Linked DNA regions of Homo sapiens: all the other regions are linked to region 1. Evidence: promoter capture Hi-C in 16 types of primary human blood cells and fetal thymus (Javierre and others, 2016). All regions are on one chromosome and are shown on one strand. Each heading gives the region's core, a stretch centred on a gene start or on the middle of the fragment in contact. The rest is flanking DNA. Distances are from core to core; before and after follow the strand shown. Region 1 holds the start of MYOC (myocilin). Region 2 overlaps DNM3 (dynamin 3). Region 3 overlaps DNM3 (dynamin 3). Region 4 overlaps DNM3 (dynamin 3).

Region 1 (7,523 bases), core at 2,948-5,447:
TAACTTTTTCAGAATGATCTGTCATAGCCCTCACACACAGGCCCGATGTGTCTGACCTACAACCACATCTACAACCCAAGTGCCTCAACCATTGTTAACGTGTCATCTCAGTAGGTCCCATTACAAATGCCACCTCCCCTGTGCAGCCCATCCCGCTCCACAGGAAGTCTCCCCACTCTAGACTTCTGCATCACGATGTTACAGCCAGAAGCTCCGTGAGGGTGAGGGTCTGTGTCTTACACCTACCTGTATGCTCTACACCTGAGCTCACTGCAACCTCTGCCTCCCAGGTTCAAGCAATTCTCCTGTCTCAGCCTCCCGCGTAGCTGGGACTACAGGCGCACGCCCGGCTAATTTTTGTATTGTTAGTAGAGATGGGGTTTCACCATATTAGCCCGGCTGGTCTTGAACTCCTGACCTCAGGTGATCCACCCACCTCAGCCTCCTAAAGTGCTGGGATTACAGGCATGAGTCACCGCGCCCGGCCAAGGGTCAGTGTTTAATAAGGAATAACTTGAATGGTTTACTAAACCAACAGGGAAACAGACAAAAGCTGTGATAATTTCAGGGATTCTTGGGATGGGGAATGGTGCCATGAGCTGCCTGCCTAGTCCCAGACCACTGGTCCTCATCACTTTCTTCCCTCATCCTCATTTTCAGGCTAAGTTACCATTTTATTCACCATGCTTTTGTGGTAAGCCTCCACATCGTTACTGAAATAAGAGTATACATAAACTAGTTCCATTTGGGGCCATCTGTGTGTGTGTATAGGGGAGGAGGGCATACCCCAGAGACTCCTTGAAGCCCCCGGCAGAGGTTTCCTCTCCAGCTGGGGGAGCCCTGCAAGCACCCGGGGTCCTGGGTGTCCTGAGCAACCTGCCAGCCCGTGCCACTGGTTGTTTTGTTATCACTCTCTAGGGACCTGTTGCTTTCTATTTCTGTGTGACTCGTTCATTCATCCAGGCATTCATTGACAATTTATTGAGTACTTATATCTGCCAGACACCAGAGACAAAATGGTGAGCAAAGCAGTCACTGCCCTACCTTCGTGGAGGTGACAGTTTCTCATGGAAGACGTGCAGAAGAAAATTAATAGCCAGCCAACTTAAACCCAGTGCTGAAAGAAAGGAAATAAACACCATCTTGAAGAATTGTGCGCAGCATCCCTTAACAAGGCCACCTCCCTAGCGCCCCCTGCTGCCTCCATCGTGCCCGGAGGCCCCCAAGCCCGAGTCTTCCAAGCCTCCTCCTCCATCAGTCACAGCGCTGCAGCTGGCCTGCCTCGCTTCCCGTGAATCGTCCTGGTGCATCTGAGCTGGAGACTCCTTGGCTCCAGGCTCCAGAAAGGAAATGGAGAGGGAAACTAGTCTAACGGAGAATCTGGAGGGGACAGTGTTTCCTCAGAGGGAAAGGGGCCTCCACGTCCAGGAGAATTCCAGGAGGTGGGGACTGCAGGGAGTGGGGACGCTGGGGCTGAGCGGGTGCTGAAAGGCAGGAAGGTGAAAAGGGCAAGGCTGAAGCTGCCCAGATGTTCAGTGTTGTTCACGGGGCTGGGAGTTTTCCGTTGCTTCCTGTGAGCCTTTTTATCTTTTCTCTGCTTGGAGGAGAAGAAGTCTATTTCATGAAGGGATGCAGTTTCATAAAGTCAGCTGTTAAAATTCCAGGGTGTGCATGGGTTTTCCTTCACGAAGGCCTTTATTTAATGGGAATATAGGAAGCGAGCTCATTTCCTAGGCCGTTAATTCACGGAAGAAGTGACTGGAGTCTTTTCTTTCATGTCTTCTGGGCAACTACTCAGCCCTGTGGTGGACTTGGCTTATGCAAGACGGTCGAAAACCTTGGAATCAGGAGACTCGGTTTTCTTTCTGGTTCTGCCATTGGTTGGCTGTGCGACCGTGGGCAAGTGTCTCTCCTTCCCTGGGCCATAGTCTTCTCTGCTATAAAGACCCTTGCAGCTCTCGTGTTCTGTGAACACTTCCCTGTGATTCTCTGTGAGGGGGGATGTTGAGAGGGGAAGGAGGCAGAGCTGGAGCAGCTGAGCCACAGGGGAGGTGGAGGGGGACAGGAAGGCAGGCAGAAGCTGGGTGCTCCATCAGTCCTCACTGATCACGTCAGACTCCAGGACCGAGAGCCACAATGCTTCAGGAAAGCTCAATGAACCCAACAGCCACATTTTCCTTCCCTAAGCATAGACAATGGCATTTGCCAATAACCAAAAAGAATGCAGAGACTAACTGGTGGTAGCTTTTGCCTGGCATTCAAAAACTGGGCCAGAGCAAGTGGAAAATGCCAGAGATTGTTAAACTTTTCACCCTGACCAGCACCCCACGCAGCTCAGCAGTGACTGCTGACAGCACGGAGTGACCTGCAGCGCAGGGGAGGAGAAGAAAAAGAGAGGGATAGTGTATGAGCAAGAAAGACAGATTCATTCAAGGGCAGTGGGAATTGACCACAGGGATTATAGTCCACGTGATCCTGGGTTCTAGGAGGCAGGGCTATATTGTGGGGGGAAAAAATCAGTTCAAGGGAAGTCGGGAGACCTGATTTCTAATACTATATTTTTCCTTTACAAGCTGAGTAATTCTGAGCAAGTCACAAGGTAGTAACTGAGGCTGTAAGATTACTTAGTTTCTCCTTATTAGGAACTCTTTTTCTCTGTGGAGTTAGCAGCACAAGGGCAATCCCGTTTCTTTTAACAGGAAGAAAACATTCCTAAGAGTAAAGCCAAACAGATTCAAGCCTAGGTCTTGCTGACTATATGATTGGTTTTTTGAAAAATCATTTCAGCGATGTTTACTATCTGATTCAGAAAATGAGACTAGTACCCTTTGGTCAGCTGTAAACAAACACCCATTTGTAAATGTCTCAAGTTCAGGCTTAACTGCAGAACCAATCAAATAAGAATAGAATCTTTAGAGCAAACTGTGTTTCTCCACTCTGGAGGTGAGTCTGCCAGGGCAGTTTGGAAATATTTACTTCACAAGTATTGACACTGTTGTTGGTATTAACAACATAAAGTTGCTCAAAGGCAATCATTATTTCAAGTGGCTTAAAGTTACTTCTGACAGTTTTGGTATATTTATTGGCTATTGCCATTTGCTTTTTGTTTTTTCTCTTTGGGTTTATTAATGTAAAGCAGGGATTATTAACCTACAGTCCAGAAAGCCTGTGAATTTGAATGAGGAAAAAATTACATTTTTGTTTTTACCACCTTCTAACTAAATTTAACATTTTATTCCATTGCGAATAGAGCCATAAACTCAAAGTGGTAATAACAGTACCTGTGATTTTGTCATTACCAATAGAAATCACAGACATTTTATACTATATTACAGTTGTTGCAGATACGTTGTAAGTGAAATATTTATACTCAAAACTACTTTGAAATTAGACCTCCTGCTGGATCTTGTTTTTAACATATTAATAAAACATGTTTAAAATTTTGATATTTTGATAATCATATTTCATTATCATTTGTTTCCTTTGTAATCTATATTTTATATATTTGAAAACATCTTTCTGAGAAGAGTTCCCCAGATTTCACCAATGAGGTTCTTGGCATGCACACACACAGAGTAAGAACTGATTTAGAGGCTAACATTGACATTGGTGCCTGAGATGCAAGACTGAAATTAGAAAGTTCTCCCAAAGATACACAGTTGTTTTAAAGCTAGGGGTGAGGGGGGAAATCTGCCGCTTCTATAGGAATGCTCTCCCTGGAGCCTGGTAGGGTGCTGTCCTTGTGTTCTGGCTGGCTGTTATTTTTCTCTGTCCCTGCTACGTCTTAAAGGACTTGTTTGGATCTCCAGTTCCTAGCATAGTGCCTGGCACAGTGCAGGTTCTCAATGAGTTTGCAGAGTGAATGGAAATATAAACTAGAAATATATCCTTGTTGAAATCAGCACACCAGTAGTCCTGGTGTAAGTGTGTGTACGTGTGTGTGTGTGTGTGTGTGTGTGTAAAACCAGGTGGAGATATAGGAACTATTATTGGGGTATGGGTGCATAAATTGGGATGTTCTTTTTAAAAAGAAACTCCAAACAGACTTCTGGAAGGTTATTTTCTAAGAATCTTGCTGGCAGCGTGAAGGCAACCCCCCTGTGCACAGCCCCACCCAGCCTCACGTGGCCACCTCTGTCTTCCCCCATGAAGGGCTGGCTCCCCAGTATATATAAACCTCTCTGGAGCTCGGGCATGAGCCAGCAAGGCCACCCATCCAGGCACCTCTCAGCACAGCAGAGCTTTCCAGAGGAAGCCTCACCAAGCCTCTGCAATGAGGTTCTTCTGTGCACGTTGCTGCAGCTTTGGGCCTGAGATGCCAGCTGTCCAGCTGCTGCTTCTGGCCTGCCTGGTGTGGGATGTGGGGGCCAGGACAGCTCAGCTCAGGAAGGCCAATGACCAGAGTGGCCGATGCCAGTATACCTTCAGTGTGGCCAGTCCCAATGAATCCAGCTGCCCAGAGCAGAGCCAGGCCATGTCAGTCATCCATAACTTACAGAGAGACAGCAGCACCCAACGCTTAGACCTGGAGGCCACCAAAGCTCGACTCAGCTCCCTGGAGAGCCTCCTCCACCAATTGACCTTGGACCAGGCTGCCAGGCCCCAGGAGACCCAGGAGGGGCTGCAGAGGGAGCTGGGCACCCTGAGGCGGGAGCGGGACCAGCTGGAAACCCAAACCAGAGAGTTGGAGACTGCCTACAGCAACCTCCTCCGAGACAAGTCAGTTCTGGAGGAAGAGAAGAAGCGACTAAGGCAAGAAAATGAGAATCTGGCCAGGAGGTTGGAAAGCAGCAGCCAGGAGGTAGCAAGGCTGAGAAGGGGCCAGTGTCCCCAGACCCGAGACACTGCTCGGGCTGTGCCACCAGGCTCCAGAGAAGGTAAGAATGCAGAGTGGGGGGACTCTGAGTTCAGCAGGTGATATGGCTCGTAGTGACCTGCTACAGGCGCTCCAGGCCTCCCTGCCTGCCCTTTCTCCTAGAGACTGCACAGCTAGCACAAGACAGATGAATTAAGGAAAGCACAGCGATCACCTTCAAGTATTACTAGTAATTTAGCTCCTGAGAGCTTCATTTAGATTAGTGGTTCAGAGTTCTTGTGCCCCTCCATGTCAGTTTTCACAGTCCATAGCAAAAGGAGAAATAAAAGGACCGGGTGAGATGTGTCTGCATATGAGCAGTAGAAAGTTGTCAATTGTCCCTTTTGAAAAACTATCCTTTTTTGAACCTTTGCTCAGATTGTTATTTGTACCTTTTGATGTTAAAATGACCTTTATTTATGAAATTACAATAGATTTGGGAAATGATAATAAGTGGTAAGTTTTTGTTTATTTTTAAATGTTCTTCCCTGGCAAAATAAAGAGATGGCACCTCTCTGTCAGTTTTCTTAATATGTTGTTCTGAAAGTTTTCTTACTCAGTCCAATCTGAGAACCTCTGCTTTTAAGTCATCAGACAAATTCTTGAGATGGCTTTTTCTGAGAGGCTCTTCTGTTCATCCTGGTCCCTTCTTGCCTAAAGGTGAGTCTGTGTGTGTGTGGGGGGGGTGCGGGGGTGAGGTGTTGGGGGAGGTCTTCTTATTAGCTGGGAAGATGGTATTTGTGTCACTTTTTGTGAAAGTGGGCTCCCAAATATTCCCTGTTGAGGAAGTGTTCTAATCATGAGGAAATAAGCAAGCAAATCCAGTTGTTGGACAATTAGTTTGGACTGGTCAAAGATGTCAGTGCCAAGGAAGAAAGAAAAAAGGGGTGGGGAAGGGCTTGTTCTATATTAAAGAGACTAAAGAAATGTGTTAACCAAATGTAGTGCATGAGTCTTGATTGGTGTCTTCATCCAAGGGGGAAAAAGGCTATGAGGAACAGGTTTGGGATAACTGAGGCAATTTGACTGCTCATTATTATGTTACTGTATTAATGTTCAGTTTCTTGGTGAGATAATGATACTGTGGTTGCGAAGGATAAAATCTTTGTTCTATGGAGATACATGCTTAAGTACCCAGGGTGAGGCGTCAGGATGTCTGCAATTTGCTCTCAAATGGTTGAAGAAAGACTGCAAATATATAGATAATGAGAGAAAGAAAGGTAAAACAACTGTGGCAAAATATTAATAACTGGTGAATTACAAACTGGTGAATCTAAGTATATGGGGAGCTTATTGTACTATTCTTTCAGTTTTTCTATAGGCTTGAAAAGCTTTAAAATTATGAGAAAATATTTCCTAAAAAGAGCCTTCTACGTGAAAGGCAAGCTCTTCATAGCTATGGGGTTAGAAAACCTAAGAGCCAGAGCCTGGGGATGACCTTGGGCAAGTTATTGAACCCTCTGCATCTTCATTTCTTGTCCATAACATAACAAAGAAAATTCCTGCTGTGAATAATTTTTGTGGGGTTCACATGAAATACCTATAAGATGTAAAGGATTTTTAAAAAATGTTTAGATTGTTAGAATTAGAAGAGATCCAATTCTGAATTTTACAACCAAGGAAAGTGAAGTCCTAAGATGCTAAGGGGCCAAGGTTGCCCAGCTGGTCAGTGGTAGAGCTTGAGACTTGAATCTGTGGAGACAATTGAAAGAATCATCATTACCAGAAGTGTGATGAGGCATTACTTATTTCAGACTGTTGAATGAAGTTACATTCTCAATAAAAACTCCTGCATGTGTGTATGTGGGTGTGGGTGGTGTGTGTGTGTGTGTACAAAAATAGTGGCAATGTTTTGCCTTTTTTTTTCTTTTGTGGTCATTTAACAAGTCTTTGGGGATTTATTAGATGTGTTTCCTAATTTTATATTTTTTCTTGATCTTTCCAGCTACTCCACTTTTGAAATAAGGGCAACATCCCATTATATTGAACACCAAACATGGAAGTTCTTTTCTAGTAGTAGATGTTTTTCATGAGCAGGAAATTACATTAGTACAAGAATGTGGAACTGGAAAGGGACCTAATGAGCATCCGGTACCGCTGGCTGATTTTTGCAGATATGGAAACTGAGGCCCAGAGAGGTTATTCAGCTTGTCCATGGCCATCTACCAGTTAGTGGCAAAGCTCGAATTCTGGCCTCTTCCTCTGAAGTTCAGTGACTTTCTTTCTTTTTTTTTGAGACAGAGTTTCACTCTTGTTGCCCAGGCTAGAGTGTAATGGCACGATCTTGGCTCACTGAAACCTCTGCCTCCCGGGTTCAAGCAATTCTCCTACCTCAGCCTCCTGAGTAGCTGGGATTATAGGCATGTGCCACCATGCCCGGCTAATTTTGTATTTTTAGTAGAGACAGGGTTTCACCATGTTGGTCAGGCTAGTCTCGAACTCCTGACCTCAGGTGATCTGCCGACCTCGGCCTTCCAAAGCACTGGGATTACAGGTGTGAGCCCTCCCTGTACATGGCCATGAGGTTCATTGACTTTCAAGACCTTCAGCTGACCTCTGGTTTATAGACCCTAAAGGTAAAAGACAGAAAGGTACAGGAATGCTTGGAACAAAAGATCTGTTTCAAGGCCAGATCTAGGGAAAAGGGGGCATTCTGGAGGCTGGAATA
Region 2 (7,523 bases), core at 1,714-4,213, 340 kb before region 1:
GTGCTAGGAATCTTAGTCTGCTCCTTTACTCTAAATCCATGAGCAGCAGCTAGCATAGTCCTGAAGCAAATCAAGCCAAGCTCAGGATAATCCTCCTTCTATCCCACCCCAGCCCCAACCTACCTAAGACCTTCTTTCACCTATAGTTAATCTAGCCATTTGCAGATGAATCTGAAATTATGCTTATTGCATAACACATTACTAAAATATTCAAAATAATTCTATTACAATTCTATTTTTTAGTATTATCAAGCCTCATTAAATCATATGGGTGTGGGCAGTAGTTTGAATTATGAAATATAACTGATTGCTTTAAAGAAAAGCTTATTAAATTTATAAGTTCTATACAACAAATAAAATAACAAAGCCTGGTAAAGTTTCCTTTAATTATTTTCAAGAGGAAAATAACTGCTAGCATTTGGTTAGCTATTTCGACTAAGTGTTATCTTTTTTTTTTTGAGACAAGGTCTCACTCTGTCACCTAGGCTGGAGTGCAGTAGCGTGATCACAGCTCACCACAGCCTCAACCTCCTGGGCTCAGGTAATCCTCCCACTTTAGTCTCCCAAGTAGGTGGGACTACAGGCATGCGCCACCACATCCCACTAATTTTTTTTATATTTTTTGAACAGACGGGGTTTCACCATGTTGCCCAGGCTGGTCTTGAACTCCTGGGCTCAAGCAATCTGCCCACCTTGGCCTCCCAAAGTGTTAGAATTATAGGTGTGAGCCACCATGCCGAGCCAATTATTATCTTTATAATAATTTATCTTAATTATTATAGCAAACTTTTGAGGTAAGGGTTATGATAATTTCATTTCATTTTAGAGATTAAGTAATAAGGTTCAAAGAAGTTAAATAACTTGCCCAAGGACACACAATCAGGATGTGATGGATCTGCTTCCAAGCCCTGTGTTTATTTTTATCTACATCATTTAATAAGGCACCTAGCAGAGGAATGGTCTGATGAAGTGGAAAAAGTACTGGAGGAGGAGAGGAGGGGCTATACCATAAGCACATGGTGTGTTTACAGGTATGTTATTCAACCACTGTATATATTACCTAGAAAAACTTCCTTACCCCAAAATAGGATCTCACCCATACCAACCTCTAGTATTCTGGTGAAACTAAAGCAAAAGTAAGAGCACTTTGAAAAGTAAAGACCACTATACAGAGAAAAATATATTCAAAACATCATATAATTCTGATGGCTAGGAGTTTGACATTTCAAATTATATAGCCATTCCCCTTGAAATTATGCTAAAAACCCTCTTCTACTCAGTAAAACTATTTTTCACAAATGATGCAAAAGATGAGCTTGAACTTTGTCTAGCCACAAATTTGTGACATTCTACATATACTGAAAGAATAATTTCATGTGAAACTTAATATAAAATATATGTAAATACATCCCAACATTTAATAATACTTATTTTATAGAAGTTTTCAATCTGAATATTATTATGCAAATAATTTATAATTAACTTATCAAGATGAGCTGTCTTCCCAAGCATATATTCCAATATACTCAAATCCCGTTTAGGTGAAAATTGCCTGTCTATTGTCAAAAAGATTTAATTTAGTACAAAGTAGCTACTGCCTAAAATACACTACCTCTCAGAAGACGATAATTATGTACCTTGGTGGATAAGATTCTAATTCAGATAAATAAAGAATGAAGAATGGTCCTCTACTATCTAAATAGGTCATCCTGCTTAGCCAAGGGCAAAATATCAGGAAAGATGTACATTAAGTGGTGAGAACAGGCCACTTGCACAGTCAACCAAATCATTCCTGAAGACCAACAGGGTAACAGATGTCATAACCAGATTGCCCTCACCATCCCAACTCAAATGACTGTTATATGAAAAGTTTGTTGTTATTACAGTTGTATAGGACCAGAATGAGGAATATAAACGGGAATGCTGGAATAAGGACCTCTGAAAAGGCCACTTCTCCATAAAGGCAGTAAGAAAGAACACTGGCAAAAATTGTTAAAGCCAACTGTTTCAGAACTCTGGAAATTAACCAAAGGCTTACAACAATCTGAGGAGTAAATATTCAAAAAAAAAAACACCTGGATTTCTAGCTAGGCACAGTGGCTCACACCTGTAATCCCAACACTTTGGGAGGTCGAGGTGGGTGGATCTCTTGAGGTCAGGAGTACAAGACCAGCCTGAGCAACATGGTGAAACCCTGTCTCCACTAAATGCAAAAAATTAGCTGGATGTGGTGGCACATGCCTGTAATCCCAGCTACTTGGGAGGATGAGGCAGGAGAATCACTTGAACCCAGGAGGCAGAGGTTGCAGTGAGCCGAGACTGTGCCATTGCACTCCAGCCTGGGCAGCAAGAGCAAAAACTCCATCTCAAAAAAAAAAAAAAAAAAAAAAAAACCTGGATTTCAGTAAGAACAACAAGCCGTATGGTGTTTGAACTTGCCCTATGCCCATCCCCCTCTCATCTCTACAGTAGCCTTGAAAACAAAAACACCACAGTCATGATGAAAATCAGAACCCTAGAAACCCCTGGAGGGGACAGAATGGGGTTGGAGAGCATCAAAAATACAATTTTCAGACAATTGTAACTATTTAACCTGTCTAGCAGTTCCCTAAAAACCCCCATTCACAGGGCTTTTCTTTACTTGACCTGACTCAGAGCTTATTCAGTGTGAAAAGCCTCTTTCCCCAGAAAAAATTTGTCAAAAATAATCAGTGGCAATTGTTCAACATCACAGGTCTCAGGGAGCAATAACAATTGGGGCAAAAAAAAAAAGAAAGAAAGAAAAAACTAACCAAAAAACTTAAAAGGAAAACTTGGGAATGAGATGGCCACAAAGGCCATTGAAAATTTTGTATATATGTACAACCTAGAATCTAGAAAGCCACATGCATGTTTGGGGTTTTGTGCAAACACAGCAAAGACCTCAGAAGATCCTAAATTCTCACCTCTAGCTCACCTTGAGCTCTGCATAAGCAGGAAGTTAGGATTAAGGCAGAGTTGTAAACTGTCTGCCTGAGCATTGAAGCCATACCCCAAAATGCACATTGAGAGCTTTGGTAAATGTTTAGCGATTTACTGACTCTAGTATTTAAGAAGATCCCTGTCCTGACCACTAAAAAAAAATGCTGAGCAAAGACTTAAGTGGCCACACACGACAAAGAATATAGACTTGCAGAATTGGTTCATGAAAATTAGTAACCAAATAAATAGCACCTGCAGCAACAATAAACAGCAACAAAAACTGGAAGGGAGAGAGGAATCTGGTTTCTAGTGCTGCCACATCACATTATTTAAATATCTAATTTTCAACAAAAAAATTTTAAGATATGCAAAGAAAGTATGGCCCACCCAAAAGAAAATATACAGTCAATAGAAACTGTCCCTGAACAATCCCAGAAATTGAAATTACTAGACAAAGGCTTTAAATCATCTATTTTAAATATGTTTTAAAAACTAAAAAAAAATAATAATCTAAAGAACAAAAAGAATGTATGAGAATAATGTTTCACCAAATACAGAATATCAGTAAGGAGACAGAAATTTTTTTTTAAAAGAACCAAATAGAAAATCTGGAGATAAAATAACTGAAATAAAAAAATTCACTATAGAGATTTAATAGCAGATCTGAACAGGCAGAAAGAATCAGCAAACTTGAAGACAGATCAATTGAGATTGTTCCTCCCAGTCTAAGGAAAAGAAAGACAAAAGAAAGAATGAAGAAACATGAACAAAGTCTCAGAGATTGGTGAAAACATCTTACCAACATACATACCAACATACACATAATGTGATTCTCAGAAAGAGAAGAGGAGAGAAAGAGGAAGAAAGAATAGTTGAAGAAATAATGGCTGAAAATTTATCAAATTTGACTTAAAAAGCATTAATCTACACATCCAAGAAGGTCAACAAACTCCAAGTAGGATAAACTCAACAAGATCTGTACCTACAGATATCATAATCAAACTGCCAAAAGACAAAAAAAAAAAAAAAAGAATCTTGAAAGCAGCAGGAGAGAAGAAAATCATGTTCAAAGGATCCTCAATGAGATTGACAGCTGAATTTTGACCATGGAGGTCAGATGGTAGTGGGATGACATACTCAAATTGATGAAAGGAAAAAAACTTTAAGTAAAAATTATCCTTCAAAATTTAAGGAGAAATTAAGACATTCCAAGATAAACAAAAACCAAGAGAATCCCTTACTGACAGACATAGCCTACAAGAAATACTAATGAGAGCCTTTCAGGCAGAAAAAAAAGGACACTGGACAGTAACTCAAATACCCAGGAAAAACTGAAGAACACCAGTAAAGTTAACTACATAGTTAAATATAATAGACAATATAAATGTATTTTTGTTTGTAACTCTTTTTTCTCATATCTGATTTAAAAGATAATCATATAAAGCTATAATTATATTTCTGTGTTGATAGGCATGTAATGTAAAAGTTGTGATTTGTATGACAATAATAGCACATAGGAAGGGGAGGGAGTGGAGCTATATAGGAGCAAAATGCTGTGTATTATTGAAATTAAGTTGGTATTGATCCAAACTAGATTGCTATAAATTAAGATGTTAATTGTAATCCTATGGCAACCACTAAGAAAATAACAAAAAAGTAAAATAAATGACCAAGGAATTAAAATTATATACTAGAAAATAAATATTTAACACAAAAGGAGATAGTAGCAGAGAAATAGAGAAACAAAAAGACATAGGACATACACAAAAAGAATGGCAAAATAGCACACATAAATTCTATCTCATCAGTAATGACTCCTACCAAAACTTTCAAAAGTCTCCTCTTGGGACCACCATATATAGGATATAAAAACTGGGGGCAAGTAGGTCTGTAAATGGTGGAGCAGCAGTTCTAATGATCCACAAAAAAGGAGATTTATTTTAGGTAAGTTCATGAACATTTACATGACAATTTCTAAGTGGCACCTAATAAAAATGAGTTTGTAAATAAGCCAAGCCTATGATAGTTTTTTTTTAATCTCATTTAACTTTCTGGAGTAGATTTGTGGCATAAAATGACATACTCCTGACTGACAGTCAATGCTATATTTTCCTTACGCTATAACAACACATCGAATATACTGGGAATGACTTTGTGGATATTGATTCCTTTCTGGCAAACTGATGACTCCCTCCACAAACATTCATTGCTCTCACCTAATGATCTGTGATCACATGAGTTTATTTTAGGTCATAAATGAATCTTCTTCTGAAAAGCCTGAGAAATGAGATGTAGTTACTGCCCATTAATATTCCCTATGTGCACAACAGGGGTAAAATATAGCATGAATATGTTAAACCAATTTTAAGAAATCACTTTACAAGATTTATTAGTTGGCCAATTTTTTTAGTTTACATTTATTATAAAATTCATAATACACACAAATAAAATATTCTCCAATGGCTTTTCTTCTACTAGATTGGAAGTTGTGAGGATGTGAGACAGGATATCTATAGCCATCTTGTCACCCTTGAAAAGAATTTATCTTAAAAAAGAAACAATTTCAAAGAGGCTGAACCAAGGTAGGACGAAAGAGAAATCAGGGACTGAATGGTATCATTTGCAGTCCTCCATGAAGCTTCATCTGGATTGTCATATTGCGGTACGCATTTTTAGTCTTCTTCCCTATTCCCCAGCACACAACTACTAAAGTCCTTGGAATCTTCAAAGTGATAAGTATCTTTTTGCAGGCTAATGGGTTGGTAAGTGGCTGGCAGCTCCTGGATAGCTTCAGCAAGTGGACTGGTCACTAGAAAGAACAGATATGACCTCCTAGGAGGGATGAGGGGCTGAAGTTTAAGTTGATCACCAATAGCTAATGATTTAATCAATCATGCCTACATAATGAAGCTTCCATAAAAATCCAAAATGGGCTGGGTTTGGAGAGCTTCTGGATAGCTGGAGATGCAGAGGTTTCTAGAGGATGGTGTGCCCGGAGAGAACATGGAAGCTCCACATCGCTTCTCATACATTGCCCTATGCATCTCTTCATCTGTATCCCTTGTAATATTCTTTATAACAAAGAACTGTTTCTCCGAGTTTTGTGAGCCCCTCTAGCAAATTAATAGAACACAAGAAGAAGGTTGTAGAAACCCCAATTTATAGCCAGTCAGTCAGAGCACAGGGTAAACAACCTGGATCTTGTAACTGGCATCAGAAGTGGGGGTCATCTTGTGGGACTGAACCCTCAATCAGTGTGATCTGATGCTATTTCCAGGTAAATAGTATCAGAATAAAATTTAATCAGAGGATACCTAGCTGATGTCTGCTGCAGAAAAGAATTAATTGCTTGTTTGCAGTAGGGAGAAATCACCACACATCTGGAGTCAGAAGCGTGTTTGAGAATATAGTAGGAGAAGCTGAGTTTGTTTTTTCTACGTGGACTACGTGTGGACTCCTCAGGAATGTGACTGGGCTGAACTCACTAGAATTCACTGATGGTATGACTCTCTCTGTCCCAATCAGACAACCATGGCTCAATCTCCTATGGGAAAGAAGGCTGTAAGACAGGAATGGTTCAGCACCATTTTTATAACTAGATTCCAGTCCCAGTTTATAATCTGACTCTTCCAAGCCACTGACGCTGTAAAGGGAGTCCTGGTGATGGTCCTTACTTGTCATCTGGAGCCTCTACCTGCTTGTTACAAGCCCCAGTTTCAGGGATGGTGGAGGAAACCAAGAAGAAAAAAACAGTTACCATTGCAGAATTCTGGAAAGGCCTAAGAATTGGAGAACCAATGCTAGGGTATAGGAAGAGCTGAAAATAAAAGAATTGGCTGAAGGCTCCTAGAGGACACACCCACATAGCTACCCTTCCTCAACCTCAGCAGAGTACTGAAGACTTGCTTCAAAAGAGGTTGAACCAGAGGGACTCTGGACTCCAGAAGAATTTCAGGAATGCCATCATGAAAGCAGAGGAATTAATTAAAAGTGTACACACTGAATAGTGAGAACCATCCTCCTCCCACTCCATCCCCTGACCCACCAATTCTTGGCTCCAAGAACACTAGACATCAGGCTTATACCAGACCAGCTCAGGAGAAAATACTCATAGAACCTAACAGTTGAGGAAGTCTCCTAACAAAATGGTCAACTCTCAGCACAGTTACTCCATGGGAAAACCCACTGGTCAATGAATCCCTGTCATGTACATAAATCAGCTTTTTGGTGCTCCACTCTCATGCACGAACAAGCGGCAAAAGATCGACAAACATTTGAAAAAGGTCTCTAACATCAAAGACAGAGACAAAAACAAACAATCAGAAAACAATAGATTCAGACAATGTAGATTACAAAAGAAAACCTTCAAAAAGCTCTCACTAAAGTCCTTGGAGGAAGATATTGTATTTATGAAAACAAGAACATGATGCTATTTTAAAAAATAAAAATAAGATTCACAAAGTAAAAATATGCTTTTGGAACCTCTAAAATGAATCAGAAGAGCAGAAGATAAAGTTGATAAAATCTTGCAGAAAGTAGAACAAAAAGACAAAGAAATGATT
Region 3 (7,523 bases), core at 3,252-5,751, 320 kb before region 1:
CTACCTCCATCCTACCTACTCAGTCGCTCTGCTTGCAATGGCCTCCCTTCTGCAGCTCAAGAGCACCAAGTCCCTTCCTACCTCAGGGCCTCTCTATAAGCTGCACCTCTTCTGGAATGTTTGTCCCTCTGATCTCTGCATGTGTGGCTCCTTCCTGTCATTTCCTCATCCAAAATATCATCTCTTTAGAGAGGTTTCCCTGACTGGACAAAGTAAGTAGCATCTCTTAATCACATCCTATTACATTGCCCAGTTTTTTTCTTCGGTGCACATGGTCACTGTCTGAAGTTTTTCGTATTTGTTTTTTATTGTCTGTCTTCATCCACTGGCATATAAGCACCATGAGAACAGGAGCATTATCTGTCTTACCCCTGCTGTATTTCCAGTAACTAAACCAGTTGCATATTTGTAGAATTGATGAATAAATAAATGAATGAGTAGATGACTGAAGGAATCAACAAATAAACCTTGGAGGAGGCTTGAGGTTTGTGGATAAGGGAAAAAAAATGATTATAAATATGGCTTTTGACATGCTGAGCTTGAAATACATTTGAAATATCCAAGTAGAGTTTCAAACAGTCAGTTAAAAATGAGTCTGGAGTTTAGCCCAGGAACTATACATGTGAGAGTTGTAATGTTCAGGTTGTAATTGAAGCCACCGTGTGGAAGAGATTGTCAAAAGAAGAATATGAAATGACAACCAAAAAGGAGCCTTGGGCAGATGCAACCTTAAAGGCCAGATAGAAGATAATGCATTGGCAAGGGAGCCTGAAAGAGTAAACAAAGAGATAGAAGGAAAACCAGGAATATTTTTCATATAAGCCAAAGACATAGAGTAAATTTCAAGAAAGAATTGATGTCAAAAGCTGTTGAAAGGGCAAGGTAAGTTAATTATAAGGATGTAGGAAACCGTATAGTAGATGCTCAATTTCTATCTAATTCCAATTGGATAGAAAATTTAAACACTTTTTATTATTTCAATGATTTGGGGCTATAGATTACTTTGTTTACTTAAAAAGTGTTTTATGTGCTATTTTATGCTTTTTTTCTCCCCTTGTGTCTCTTCCCTTGCTATCAAGTTTACAGTTGTCACTTCTTGCTGTTCGCAACACATCTGTTTTTAAGCCATATTCCCATTCTCACTTGTGGTTTTATATTTTACTCTAGACTGAGAAATCCAATAACCCAGTATGCATGGTCTGAGTTTAAAATAAGGCTGGAAAGGCCAGAATAAGGCTGGGACCCTGTAATGCATGAGATTTACATCAAAGACTTTGTGATATCAGTTGGGTACTCAAGGCTCTTTTTTGCTTCCTCTTGATAATCAGCTAAGTTTAGAAACTGAAAATATCAAAAAGAGTTTCTGAATAAGGAGTTATTCCAATGTTTTTTAAGAATAATTGAATGTACTAATTCTGAGACAGCAAATGTCAGTCCTTGTTTTAATAATGAAAAATAAGATGATCTGCCAAATAAAAATCTATAGAGTAATTAAAAGCAAAATGATGAGACTTTGTCATGAAAATTCAAATAATCAGATTTCAATACAAAAAAATACAATAGAAAGTCTAAGATTTACAAAATGAAAATACTGTTTCCCCACAGAATCTTGGCCACAAGGAACAAAATTTATAAATGAGATTTAAGTAGTAGTTGTATCAGAACTCTAAGTATATAAATACGTAACTAAAAAATTTTTAAAGAAAATATCAGAGCTACAATATGCATTGCTGGATACATTATAATATCTCAAAAAACCACAAAAAACTTTTTCTATGAGTATGTAATTTTATACACAAGTTGCCGCCAACATTATTTCATCTAAATATTTGAAGGAGATCTTTAGTGTGTTTTTGGTAAGCTCCTTAAATGTCAATGATATGGTTTGGCTGTGTCCCCACCCAAATCTCATCTTGAATTGTAGCTCCCATAATTCCCACATGTCATGGGAGGGACCCAGTGGGAGGTAATTGAATCATGGAGGTGGGTCTTTCCTATTCTGTTCTCATGATAGTGAATAAGTCTCACAAGAGCTGATGGTTTTATAAAAGGGAGTTCCCCTGCACATGTTCTCTTGCCTGCCGCCATATAAGATGTGACTTTTCTCCTCATTCACCTTCCACCATGAGTGTGAGGCCTCTTCAGCCATGTGGAACTGTAAGTCAGTTAAGCCTCTTTCTTTTATAAATTACCCAATCTCCAGTATGTCTTTACTAGCAGTATGAGAACAGTCATCATGACAAATTCCTGAAAGTTGTTAGCAGCTGGAAACAGCCAACTTAATTTTTGTGTATGGTGGAAGGTATTAATCAAAGTTTATTTTTTGCATGTAAATATCTATTTTTTTCCAGTAACCTTTGTTGGAAAGACTACCATTTCTCCACTGAATTGCCTTTGTACCTTTGTCTAAAATCCATTGTCTACATATGTGTAGATCCATTTTTTGAATCCATCCTGTTCCATTGATCTATTTGTCTCTTTATGCCAATGCCATATTATTGATTATTGTAACTTTATAAGCCCTCATTTTAAGAGATAGGGTCTTGCTAAGTTGCCCAGGCTGAAGTGCAATGGTTATTCACAGGCACAATTATAGCACTGTACAGCCTGAACTCCTGGGCTCAAGCAGTCTCTCTGCTGGCTAGGATTACAGGCACAAACCGTGGAACCTGTATAATAAGTCTCGAGATCAGATAATGTTAATTCTCCAACCTCAATGTTATTTTTCAAAGTTGTTTTGGCTATTCTGGGTTCTTTTATTTTCATATAAATTTTAGAATCAGCTTGTCAGTTTCTACAAAACAATCTATCTTTTGAATCTTTATCTGCAACATTGTAACATCATTCAGAAAAATTTTCCTCTTCTGGCTCAAGCTTGCACATATATAACCACAACATGTTTTGCTAAAAGCACAAGTATGTTCCCATGATGCTTGCTCTGATAAACGTATTAAACTTTAACAAAATCACAGATTCTTATAACTTGGAGTGATATCTATTCTAAACGCTTTACTAATAGAGAAGTCACTTAAGTATTGTTTGGGGTCCTACAAAAATATTTATTATCAATGATGTCCCAAGCAACATCGACCTAGTCAGTACAGTATAACTTGGTAATAAGAGTACATATTCTTACATTAAAAGGTCTAAACAAATAAAAATAAAGATTTTGTCTTGTAAATATCATGGAAATTCTTGGACATATGACAATTGGTTATATAAAACTAAAATGCCGAGCCAATTCATCTGATAAGACGCTTTTGCTTAGAAATGGTAGAAATAATTCTATGACTCAGGCAATAGAGTCAACCCAATCATTTCTTGAAAGTTTTTTAAAAAGCAAAACAATGGCCAGGTGCAGTAGCTCATGCCTATAATCCTACTGCTTTGGGAGGCCAAGACATGAGGATCACTTGAGGCCAGGAGGTCAAGACCAGCATGGGCAATATAGCAAGACTCCCTCTTAAAAAAAAAAAATCTTTTTTTCATTAGCTAGGCATGGTGGCATGCACGTGCAGTCTTTAGCTATTCGGTAAACTGAGACAGGAGGATTGCTTGAGTCCAGGAGTTCAAGGGTGCAGTGAGCCTTTAACTCCAGCCTGGGTGACAGACCAAGACCCCAACTCAAAAAAAAAAACAGTAGAAGAAGAAGAGGGGGAGAAGGAGGAGGAGAAAAAAGAAGAACCAAAGGTTGTCCTTAGTATGAAGAAAACTCAATTAATGGAACAGGTCAACTAGTGTATAAATTATCTAAATTGGGATAAACTTAAAATATTTAGAAGTTTCCCTTAGATAATTTTTGTTTTTAATCCCAGAGGATTCTTACAAGAATAGCCAGCACTCAGTAAAACCTAATGCATTATGCAGTCAGTTTAAATGATGCTAACAGAAATGCACCTATAAAGAAAACAAACTAAAGTTCGGATCCAAAACTTTGTATTATGGTTTTCTTTAACTCAATTTGTATGTAAATTAATACTTAGCTATGATAGTCACTAATTTTCTCAATGGGAACTTAATGGAAAACTCTCTCACAAGGACAACCACCCTCAAAAGAGAGAGCCCCTCAAAAGGGACTTAAATATGAAAAGTAATCAATTTCTTTTGCAAAATAGATAAAATTATGGGAGTGGAAAAATAGACAGTCATGAAAAATATATGAGAAAAAAACTATCTTACTTGAAAAGCAAGTGCACTCATTTTAGAGGGTCCTTAATATGAATAATATAGATCACAATGAAAACTGCAATTTCAATAACAGTGTAGTGACTACTCAGTGATCTGATTGTGTCATCATATGAAAAACTGATTTGAAATACTGCATTATTTAATAATACTTAGTAGTTTCATAAATTTAGAAGTCTATCCAAAATATCTGCAGCATCCCTCTCTCAACCTTTGAGTTTATATGTAAATTACTCCTGAAATAAAGTAAGTTTCTTCTTGTTAACCTCACAAGAGTCAGCCATGCCTACAGTATTCTGAAGTAAAAAACACTAGTGATTAAAAAAAAAACAAAAACACTAGTGATTAAGACTTTGGGCGACGAGTGGTGGCTCATGCCTATAATCTTAGCACGTTAGGAGGCCAAGGCGGGAGGATCACGTGAGCTCAGGAGTTCAAGACTAGCCTGGGCAACATGGTGAAATCCCGTCTCTACCAAAAATCCAAAAAATTAGCCAGGCATAATGGCACATGCCTGTAGACCCAACTATTTGGAAGGCTGAGGTGGGAGCATCACTTGAGCCCTGGAGGTTGAGGCTGCAGTAAGCCAAGATTATGCCCCAGCCTGGGTGACAGAGGGAGATCTTGTATCAAAAAAAAAAAAAAAAAGATTTTGGAGTCAGACCCATGTTTGAAGGGTCTGCAATTTCTTTATCACAAGACTGAGAAATTACTTAACTTCCCCAAGCCTCAGTTCCCTCCACTGCAAAATAGTGTCTCTTTCATAGGTTTCAGTGAGGGCAAGAGAATGAATTCTTCTGCTTCATTCACCAAAATTCTCCCAGTAACTAGGTATAGGGTCTCAACAAATTCATACTGTATCAAAGAATATATGAATGAAGGCATTTAACACATAGTAAACCCTTAATTAAAAAAAAAGAATTGAGTAAATATGTAACAATTAATCTAAATAGCAAAAGCCTTAGCCTCAAAGAGGTTAAACAAATTGCCTGAGGTTACACAGGTAGGAGATGCCAGTCAAAGATTTAAATCCAGACATTCTGACTCCCAGTTACAATCTGTTAGCCACCCCACATTAACTGTGTGTCACTACTTCAAGCTCTCCCCTCCAAGAGGCTTTGATTCCAATTCTTAGCTTTTAACATCTTCTTTGTTATCAACTGTTCATTCTTTCCACCAGCACCACTATCCCTCCTCCCCCGCCCCCTACATATGGGCATTTCCCAAAATATAGGAATCATATCTCCTACTCTTTATACTGCGGTTCTTGTTTCTGGGGTTATGACTACTTTAAGCATCTGAGAAAAGCCACGGAAACTTTCCCCATAAAAATGTACTAACTTACATATACACAGAATTGTGCAAATAACTTCAGGGTATTGAGAGAGAACTCTGCTCCACCCTCTTCCCCACAGGAATCTGGGGTTTTTGTTGTTGTTGTTGTTGTTGTTTTTGTTTTTTGTTTGTTTTTGAGATGGAGTTTTGCTCTTGTTGCCCAGGCTGGAGTGCAATGGTGCGATCTCAGCCCACTGCAACTTCCACCTCCCGAGTTCAAGCGATTCTCCTGCCTCATCCTCCCAAGTAGCTGGAATTAGAGGCATGCGCCACCACGCCCGGCTGATTTTGTATTTTCAGTAGAGACAGGGTTTCTCCATGTTGGTCAGGCTGGACTCAACCTCCCGATCTCAGGTGATCCGCCCACCTCGGCCTCTCAAAGTGCTGGGATTACAGGCATAAGCCACTGCGCCAAGCCTAGGAATCTGTATTTAAAGTGCCTCGCATACTGCCTTCTGCACAGCAAACACTCAATAACTGGTTTTATCACTATTATAGTATATGCCTATCAAAACAACCTAACAAGGCCCTCTTCAAATATCATTTCCACTAAGAAACTTCCCTTGATCTCTCCACTATAAGGAATGTGTTTCTCCTCTAAAGCTTTTCAAGATCTTGTGAATGTACTACTTACGTGATTTTGCATGTAGAAACAGCCTTAAAGATTTTCTACCAAAGCCAGTGCTTGCTCTTTACAGATAAAGAAACTAAATCCCAGAAGGCTAAGTAACACGTTCAAGAATATTCATATAACATGTATTACGCCTTCCACAGCGTAGTAACTAGTTGTTTGTGTTTTATCTCCAGTGCTACAAAGAAAGTGCTTAGAGAGTAGGACTATGTCTTCTACATCTTTGATTTAACATTCCTTAAGGATACAGAAATGATTACAAGAATAAATGAATGAATGATTCCAAGTCAAAACTGAACTACTATTTGCTGTTTTTCAAAGACTATGAGGTCTTGAATACCTCTTTCAGCATTTTAGAACTTCCAGTGTTCTTTTCCTCGTTCAGTATGAACCAACACTCTAGAGCAAAATCTCTCAGACTTTCCTTTTAGAAGCAGATCTTTTTATGAGCCATCTCCTCCCCTTCTGGTCTAATCAGTTATAGAGACTAACTCAGGATAAGACTCTCAAGAGTATGTTGTTGCTGTCTGGACTTCATTTTCGTATGAAGCTTAATACCATGAAAATATTATATTTTCAATTTCCCAAAACCTGTGTTGGCTTTTGTGATAAGGTTTTCTGGGTTTTTTGTTTTTGTTTTTGTTTTTTTAGCAAGCCTTCAATTACACATTGTGCTTCTTAGGTTGCAGAATTCAGACTATTTTGCTTCTTAGGTTACAAAGTTCAGATTATTTTCCATTCTGTAATATATCCTTTCAATTGGGAGTGGCGTTTTCTGGCCATATGAAAATCTGCTACTCATTAAAGAATTAAAGAACTACTACTATAGGGAAACAAAGTGTTAAGCTATATTTCATAATTGAAGAACTTACCAAAGTTGGAAAAGAAGACAAACTTGTGAAAATTAAGCAAAAGATTTAAATAAAATTTCAAGATAAGCAGCTTAATGAATAATTGTCAAATGAATGCTATGTAGATTTCACAAAGGGAGAGGTCTTTTTAGGGTAGAGTGATCTGTAAAGGATTTATAGAAAGGGTAGAATCTGAATTAGACTTAGGAGACTTCATATAATTGGGAAAAAACCAAGAGGAGAAAAGAGAATATTTAAAACTATAAACAAGTGATTAACAAAAGCACCAAAGAGAAAAAACAAAAGGAAATAGGAGATATACGGCTGGGCAAATAAGAACACATACCAAATTTTTAAAAATAAAAATGTGTGAAATTAACAAGTGAAAGCATAAAGCATTTATGAAGAAGTGTAAGAGATAGAATGCATTCCTCTTTGTGGTTAAATGTTAAATAAGATAATGCACAGAAAGAATTTAATACAATGCCCATTTCATACTAAGTATATTTAAAATGTAGGCT
Region 4 (7,523 bases), core at 2,908-5,407, 300 kb before region 1:
GAAGGTATTAATCCATTCATGATGGCAGAGCCTTCAAGATCCAATCACCTCTTAAAGTCCGCACCTTTCAACACTGCCACTTTCTCTTGTTCTGCAAATGTACTAAGTCTCATCCATCCTATAAAAAGTGGAGCCCTCTCTTTACCTAATCACACACTAGTTATCATTCATTATATTTGTTTCCTGGGGCTGCTATAACAAAGTATGCCAAATGGGGTAACTTTAAACAACATAAATTTTATTATTTCACAGTCCTATAGCCTAGAAGCCTAAGTTGAAGTGTTGGCAGGGCCATCTAAAGGCTCTAGGGAAGCATCTGTTCCATGTCATTCTTAGCCTCAGGTGGTTGTCAGCAATGGCTTGGCTTATGGATGCACTACTCCAGTCTCTGCCTCTTATCACATTGTGTTCTCTCAGTGTGTCTGTGTCCAAATTTTTCTCATTTTATAAGTTCAGCAGTCATTGGATTTGAACCCATCCTAATCCAGTCTTCATTCCTGATTTTAACCCAATTACATTTGCAAAGATCCTATTTTTGAATAGAGTCCTATACTGAGGTTCCAGGAGAAAGAACTTGAATTTTGGGAGGGCACTATTCACCCCAGAACACTCATATTTCTACAAAGATTCCTCTACCCCCTCCACAGTACCCGCTGTCTGGCTCCCCAGACCCCTCTCCCCACTTCAGTTGGCTTCTGTCCCCACAGCTCTGAAACAGAGTTCGCTAAGGTCAGCACAAACCTCCTAACTCCAGACCTCACCGTAGTAAATGGCCTGGTGTATCTAACACTGATAATCACCCCTCCCTTCATAACACTTTACCTCCTTGGCTTCCTCCCTGATGCCACTCACTTTTCCTCCTATCTTTTGACCCCTTCCTTCTCTTTATGGACTTCTCTGTCTCCTGACACTTCAATGCTGGTGCTTCCCAGGATTACTTTCTTTTCACTTTTGTTGTTGTTGTTTTTAATTCTTCCGGGGCAATTTTATCCATTTTTTGGTTTGAAAGACAACTGTATATTTATGACTTACAAATCTGCATATGTAGCCTAGATTTTCCCCCACAAGCTGCAGGCTTGCATATCCATCTGTTTAGATGTGCTTCAAGAACCTTAGCTCATCATTGTTCCTGAATAAACCTCTAGTTGTCTCTATTTATTTGATATCATCACTGATCCCGTAACCCAAGCTAGAAACCTGAGGATATCTTGCCCTTATTTCTACTTATGTATCTGTTTTTCCCTTATTATCTTTTTAATATATCAAATAATACAAAATACTACATTTGACATATATATATAATGAAAAATAATAATAAAACCAGCACCCATGAACCCACCACTAATATAAGAATCAAAACTGTCCAATACCATTCCATTCACCCATATACTTCCCCCTTCTGTATTCATTCTCTCACCTTCTCCTCCATGAGAATTAACCATGATTTTTAATTTTATTTTATTATCTCCTTTTCCATATTGGTTTATTACATACCTGTGCATCTCTAACCAACACATTTTTCAGTTTTGTTTTTAAGCTTTATACAAATGAAGTCATTCATTTGGGACTTGCTTTATTCACTCAAGATTATGCTCCTAGACTTATTACTGTTGATGCACATGGCTGCAGTTCAATAGTTTTACTGCTACATAATATTCAACCATGAGAATTAATTCAAAACCATAATTTTTTAGAAATATGATTTGCAACATTAGCAGAAACTATGTGGTACTTAGAAACGAATGTAACAAAAGATATATAAGATAGGTATATCTATCTGACATTACTTTCTAAAAATTTATTGATCTCCCCCTCCCCAAATCACTATCACCAAGGCCAAGTGAGGGTAGTTCTATCACCTCTCATCTGGACAGCTTACTCCACAGTCACACCCCAAATCTTGCCATGTTCCATCTATCCTGCCCATTGTAATCACAGCAATCCACTCAGCATGTAAAGCTGACTATACCATCCCCTTGCTCCAACACCTTTGATGGATTCCCTTTGTCCACGAGCTCCTTGTGTATCCCACTCCAACCTAAACTCACACAGACACACTATATACTCCAGCAACCTCACAGTGTTTCTCACTTCCAAGCTTCTGTTCCAACTCACTTTCAGGAACATCACAGCCCTTTTCCTTGTTCTCCCAAACACACAGATGCCTCCACATACATACACATACACATAAAAATACAAGTACAAACACATACACACACATCATAACCTGTGATATGGTTTGGCTGCATCCCCACCCAAATCTCATCTTGAATTGTAACTCCCACAATTGCCACATGTCATGGCAGGGACCCAGTGGGAGATCATTGAATCATGAGGACAGGTCTTTCCCATGCTGTTCTTGTGATAGTGAATAAGTCTCATGAGATCTGATGGTTTTATAAAGGGGAGTTTCCCTGAACATGCTGTCTTCTCTTGTTTGCTGCCATGTGAGACGTGCCTTTCACCTTCTGCCACAGTTGTCAGGCCTCCCCAGCCACGTGGAACTATGAGTCCATTAAACCTCTTTCTTTTGTCAATTACCCAGCCTTGGGTATGTCTTTATCAGCAAAATGAAGACAGACTAATACAGTAAATTGGTACCGGTGGACTGCGGCACTGCTATAAAGATACCTGAAGATGTGGGAGCAACTTTGGAACTGGGTAACAGGCAGAGGTTAGAACAGTTTGGAGGGCTCAGAAGACAGGAAAATGTGGGAAAGTTTGGAACTTCCTAGCGACTTGTTGAATGGCTTTGACCAAAATGCAGACAATGAAATCCAGGCTGAGGTGGTCTCAGATGGAGGTGAGGAACTTGTTGGGAACTGGAGTAAAGGTGACTCTTGCTATGTTTTAGCAGAGACTGGCAGCATTTTGTCCCTGTCCTACAGATCTGTGGAACTTTGAACTTGAGAGAGATGATTTAGGGTACCTGGCGGGAGAAATTTCTAAGCAGTAAAGCATTCAAGAGATGACTTGGGTGCTATTAAAAGCATTCAGTTTTAAAAGGGAAACAGAGCATAAAAGTTTGGAAAATTTGCAGCCTGATGATGCAATAGAAAAGAAAAACACTGGGCCGGGCATAGTGGCTCACGCCTGTAATCCCAGCACTTTGGGAGGCTGAGGCAGGCAGATCACAAGGTCAGGAGATCGAGTCCATCCTAGCTAACATGGTGAAACTCCGTCTCTACTGAAAAATACAAAAAATTAGCCGAGTGTGGTGGCGGGCACCTGTAGTCCCAGCTACTCAGGAGGCTGAAGCAGGAGAATGGTGTGAACCTGGGAGGTGGAGCTTGCAGTGAGCAGAGATCACACCACTGCACTCCAGCCTGGGTGACAGTGCGAGACTCCGTCTCAAAAAAAAAAAAAAAAGAAAGAAAGAAAGAAAAGAAAAACACGTTTTCTGAGAAGAAATTCAAGCAGGCTGTAGAGATTTACATAAATAACAAGGAGCCTAATGTTAATTGCCAAGCCAGTGGGGGAAATGCCTACAGGGCATTTCAGAGGTCTTCACAGCAGCCCCCCAACCCCCATCACAGTTGTGAAGGCTGAAGAGGAAAAAATGCTTTTGTGGGCCCAGGATCCCCCTGCTCTGTGCAGCCTAGGGACTTGGTGCCCTATATCCCAGCCACTCCAGTCATGGTTAAAAGGGGGCAAGGTATGGCTTGGGCTGTTGCTTCTGAGGGTGCAAGTCCCAAGCCCTGGTAGCTTCCATGTGGTATTGAGTCTGCGGGGGCACAGAAGTCAAGAATTGAGGTTTGGGAACCTCTGTCTAGATTTCAGAGGATGTATGGAAATGCCTGGATGCCCAGGCAGAAGTTTGCTGCAGGGGCAGGGCCCTCATGGAGAACCTCTGCTGGGGCAGTGTGGAAGGGAAATGTGGAGTCAGAGCCCTCACACAGAGTCCCTTACTGGGGCACTGCCTAGTGAAGCTGTGAGAAGAGGGTCACCATCCACCAGACCCCAGAATGGTAGATCCACCGACAGCCTGCACTATGCACCTGGAAAAGCCACAGACACCCAATGCCAGCCCATGAAAGCAGCCAGGAGGGGGGCTATACCCTACAAAGCCACAGGGGCAGAGCTACCCAAGGCCATGGGAGCCCACTTGTATCAGTGTGACCTGGATGTGAGACATGGAGTCAAAGGAGATCATTTTGGAGCTTTAAGATTTGACTGCCCCACTGGATTTCAGACTTGCATGGGGCCTTTATCCCCTTGTTTTGGTCAATTTCTCCCATTTGGAATGGGTGTATTTATCCAGTGGGTACCCCCATTGTATCTAGGAAGTAACTAACTTACTTTTGATTTTACAGGCTCATAGGCAGAAGGGACTCGCCTTGTCTCAGATGAGACTTTCGACTGTGGACTTTTGAGTTAATGCTGACATGAGTTAAGACTTTAGGGGACTGTTGGGAAGGCATGATTGGTTTTGAAATGTGAGGACATGGGATTTGGGAGGGGCCAGGAGCAGAATGATATGTTTGGCTATGTCCCCACCCAAATCTCATCTTGAATTGTAGCTCCCACAACTCCCACATGTCATGGGAGGGACCTGGTGGGAGATAATTGAATTATGGGGGCGGATCTTTCTCATGCTGTTCTCGTGATAGTGAAGAAGCCTCATGAGATTGATCATTTTATAAAGGGGAGTTTCCCTGCACAACCTCTCTCCTCTTGTCTGCTGCCACGTAAGACATGACTTTCACCTTCTGCCATGATTGTCAGGCCTCCCCAGCCATGTGGAACTATGAGTCCATTAAACCTCTATCTTTTGTCAATTGCCCAGTCTCAGGTATGTCTTTATCAGCAGCATGAAAACAGACTAATACAGCCCAGTTAGCTTCTACTAATTAAGATTCAACTTAGGCATCTCTTCAACAGAAAATTTTCCTTTAATGCTACCTATGCCTCTCACCTATTAGGGCAGGTATCTCTCCTCCATATTCCCACAATAGACATGGTTATAGTTATGGGAATGGAAATATGTATGGTCATGTGTGTGGATATGTATAAAGATATAGATAATAGCTTTATCATTTTATTGACCACATTGTACCATTTAAGTCTTTGACTCCCCTTCTGGTCTATGGGCCAAAACTATCTCATATTCCTCTCTGATGCCCTTATATCTGCCACACAGCTGGAAACACACAGTGCACTTAATATATTGGAAAAAAGTGAGTTGATTTATCATTGTTTTGTGTAACCATAAAAGTTAAAATAACTATATTTTAGGGAATCATATTCTCTTTGAAATGATGAAATGTATTATCTTTTATAAGTGCACATTTATCAAATTTTCTAAAGTACAGTGGTGCATAGCTTTCCTACCATTAAGCAGTTCATTTAGCCAATGCAGCCATGCAAGCAGTAAACTTATGGCAACTATTCTATGGCTAAGGGATAACACTTATCCAGCAACTCACTTACTCATAAGAGAGTAAGAGCCAAGAGCCCACCTAGCTAGAACTACAAGGTAGAAGGTTGCTATCACTTAGCAGTACTGCCCACAGAAGTACTTCAAATTTTATTTTAACATGCTGAGCCAGGTGTTTAAAAAGGAGAATATTAATTTAATTCCAACAGAACTTCTCTACCTTCAAATTGTGCTGACATTTTATTAGTAAGTTAAATATTTTAATTAAAACAGAACTGCTTAGCATCAAATCACTACAATTCATTAATTCTCTGCTGAAAACATATTTTTAGCTTTCTCAGGAAAAATTGCATAACACAATGTTGCCCCAGTTTCCACAATTCTAGTTATTCTACTTGAAATGCCACACTGTGAAAATATGTTTTCATTAAAAATCCTCCATCTCCTGGTGGTGTTTTCCTTTGGTGTAATTTAGAATTTTCTAGACTTGTTACCAAGGACTAAACCTCCCCTTGCAGGAGTGAGCAGGCATGCTAAATTGAAATGGAAGGTGATCTGATGTAAAACGCCGCTGCCCACAGAGGGAACTGCGTATCAGCTGTGAGAGCACTAAGCAGCAAAGTGATTTAAGAGCATTACAGTTGACAGCCACTTTACTATCTTAAGAGGATTTCATTTTCCATTTTGTCAACAAGGAACAATATACTTTGCATCCAGAAATTAAAGAAGGGTAAGAATGTGTGAGGAAGAACAAGATGCTATTCCAGAAACTCCTTGACCCACTTCTAACAAGCATTATTTCCCCCAGGAATTTGGACGAGGTTAGATAGTAAGCTTATTATAACCACAAAGGAGAAACTGCAACCAAATTGGAAAAGAGAATCAGGACCCAAAATTATCTCACCAGGCTGGAATCATCAGTCAAATTTAGCAAAAGAGATTTACTATGATAATACATGCAAAGTACTGTTCTTAAATCAATGCTAATAGAGGATCCAGGCAAAGTGCAAAAAAGAAAAAAAATTTGGCAGTTACAATGGGCTGCAAGTTCACTATGAACCAGTAATAAAGTGTCCTGGCCCCAAAATTAATGTGATCTAAGACTGAGTTAATTGCAGGTTAATGTCCACAACAGAAGGGGCAGTAGTCCCTCTGAGTTATGTGCTAGGTTGAGCCCACAGGGATTGCATGCAGTATTGGATGTCATGCTTTAACAGCTTTACTGACAAACTGGAGTATATGAAAAAGGACAATGACCACAACGGTGAGGAAACTAAATCCCACATCCCATACTTTCCTACAACAAATTAAAACAAAAGCATAATGGGAATTCTATGCCATTTATTATAAAGGCATTTCTTTTAAAGCTAAACCTTCTTGGCAACTTTCCTGTCTACTAGAAATCCTTCAGTTAAAATTTTTTAAATGAGGTCAGAAAATGATGTATTGTAAATAAAATAAAGAATTGGGGTCAGGCATGGTGGCCTGTAATCCCAGCACTTTGGGAGGCTGAGGCGGGTAGATCACCTGAGGTCAGAAGTTCGAGACAAGCCTGGCCAATATGGTGAAACCCCATCTCTACTAAAAATACAAAAAATTAGCCAAGCATCATGGCATGTGCCTGTAATCCCAGCTACTCGGGAGGCTGAGGCAGGAGAATTGCTTGAACCCGGGAGGCAGAAGTTGCACTGGGCTGAGATCACGCCACTGCACTCCAGCCTGGGCAACAGAGCAAGATTCTATCTTGGGAGGAAAAAAAAAAAAAAAAAAAGAATTGCGCATGGGGCATGCTAAATGCTTCCCTAAGTTCTCATCTATTTAAAGGTCAGATAACTGATATCATGAAAAGTGCCAGATGACTTGACTAAACTAAAATCATAAATGTAATTATCTTAATTGAAGGTGTGCATATGGCATTTAATTACAAAGGAAAAAAATAGCAGCAAAGTTTGTGATAAGTAGGCGATAGCAAGCATCACATTCAGCTAGCATATGATGTTTGAAAGAAATAAATCTGCAAGAACTAGATATGAGTGTGAGGGCATAGATGTTAGTCCTCTAGATACCTTAGCAGATCATCTCTTATATGGCAATTTTTATTTAGTTGAAATTTGATTATTTTAAAGTTTTGAAGTCCTTCCTTCCA

Evidence for each region. Contacts are between HindIII fragments. The CHiCAGO score rates a contact against its expected background, and 5 or more counts as called.
Region 2: a contact is called between a fragment that was not itself captured here and the fragment with the promoter of MYOC in region 1, in 5 of 17 cell types (activated CD4 T cells, naive CD4 T cells, M2 macrophages and 2 more). The highest score is 8.3, in activated CD4 T cells.
Region 3: a contact is called between a fragment that was not itself captured here and the fragment with the promoter of MYOC in region 1, in 4 of 17 cell types (activated CD4 T cells, total CD4 T cells, naive CD4 T cells and 1 more). The highest score is 8.1, in activated CD4 T cells.
Region 4: a fragment that was not itself captured here is called in contact with the fragment with the promoter of MYOC in region 1 in 1 of 17 cell types (activated CD4 T cells); the score reaches 6.6 in activated CD4 T cells.

The regions. Positions count from the first base shown.
Region 1 is chr1:171,649,362-171,656,884 of GRCh38, reverse strand. It overlaps MYOC (myocilin), which reads left to right and starts at 4,197. Exons shown (of 3, transcript NM_000261.2): 1 at 4,197-4,877. The coding sequence starts at 4,274. The HindIII fragment of the contact is 6,597 bases long and covers 1-6,188 here.
Region 2 is chr1:171,989,967-171,997,489 of GRCh38, reverse strand. The region is part of intron 4 of DNM3 (dynamin 3); the gene reads right to left. Among named protein-coding and RNA genes, the nearest start is that of DNM3-IT1, 130 kb to the right of the region's middle. The HindIII fragment of the contact is 5,276 bases long and covers 326-5,601 here.
Region 3 is chr1:171,970,983-171,978,505 of GRCh38, reverse strand. The region is part of intron 2 of DNM3 (dynamin 3); the gene reads right to left. Among named protein-coding and RNA genes, the nearest start is that of DNM3-IT1, 110 kb to the right of the region's middle. The HindIII fragment of the contact is 3,249 bases long and covers 2,877-6,125 here.
Region 4 is chr1:171,953,046-171,960,568 of GRCh38, reverse strand. The region is part of intron 2 of DNM3 (dynamin 3); the gene reads right to left. Among named protein-coding and RNA genes, the nearest start is that of DNM3-IT1, 93 kb to the right of the region's middle. The HindIII fragment of the contact is 4,113 bases long and covers 2,101-6,213 here.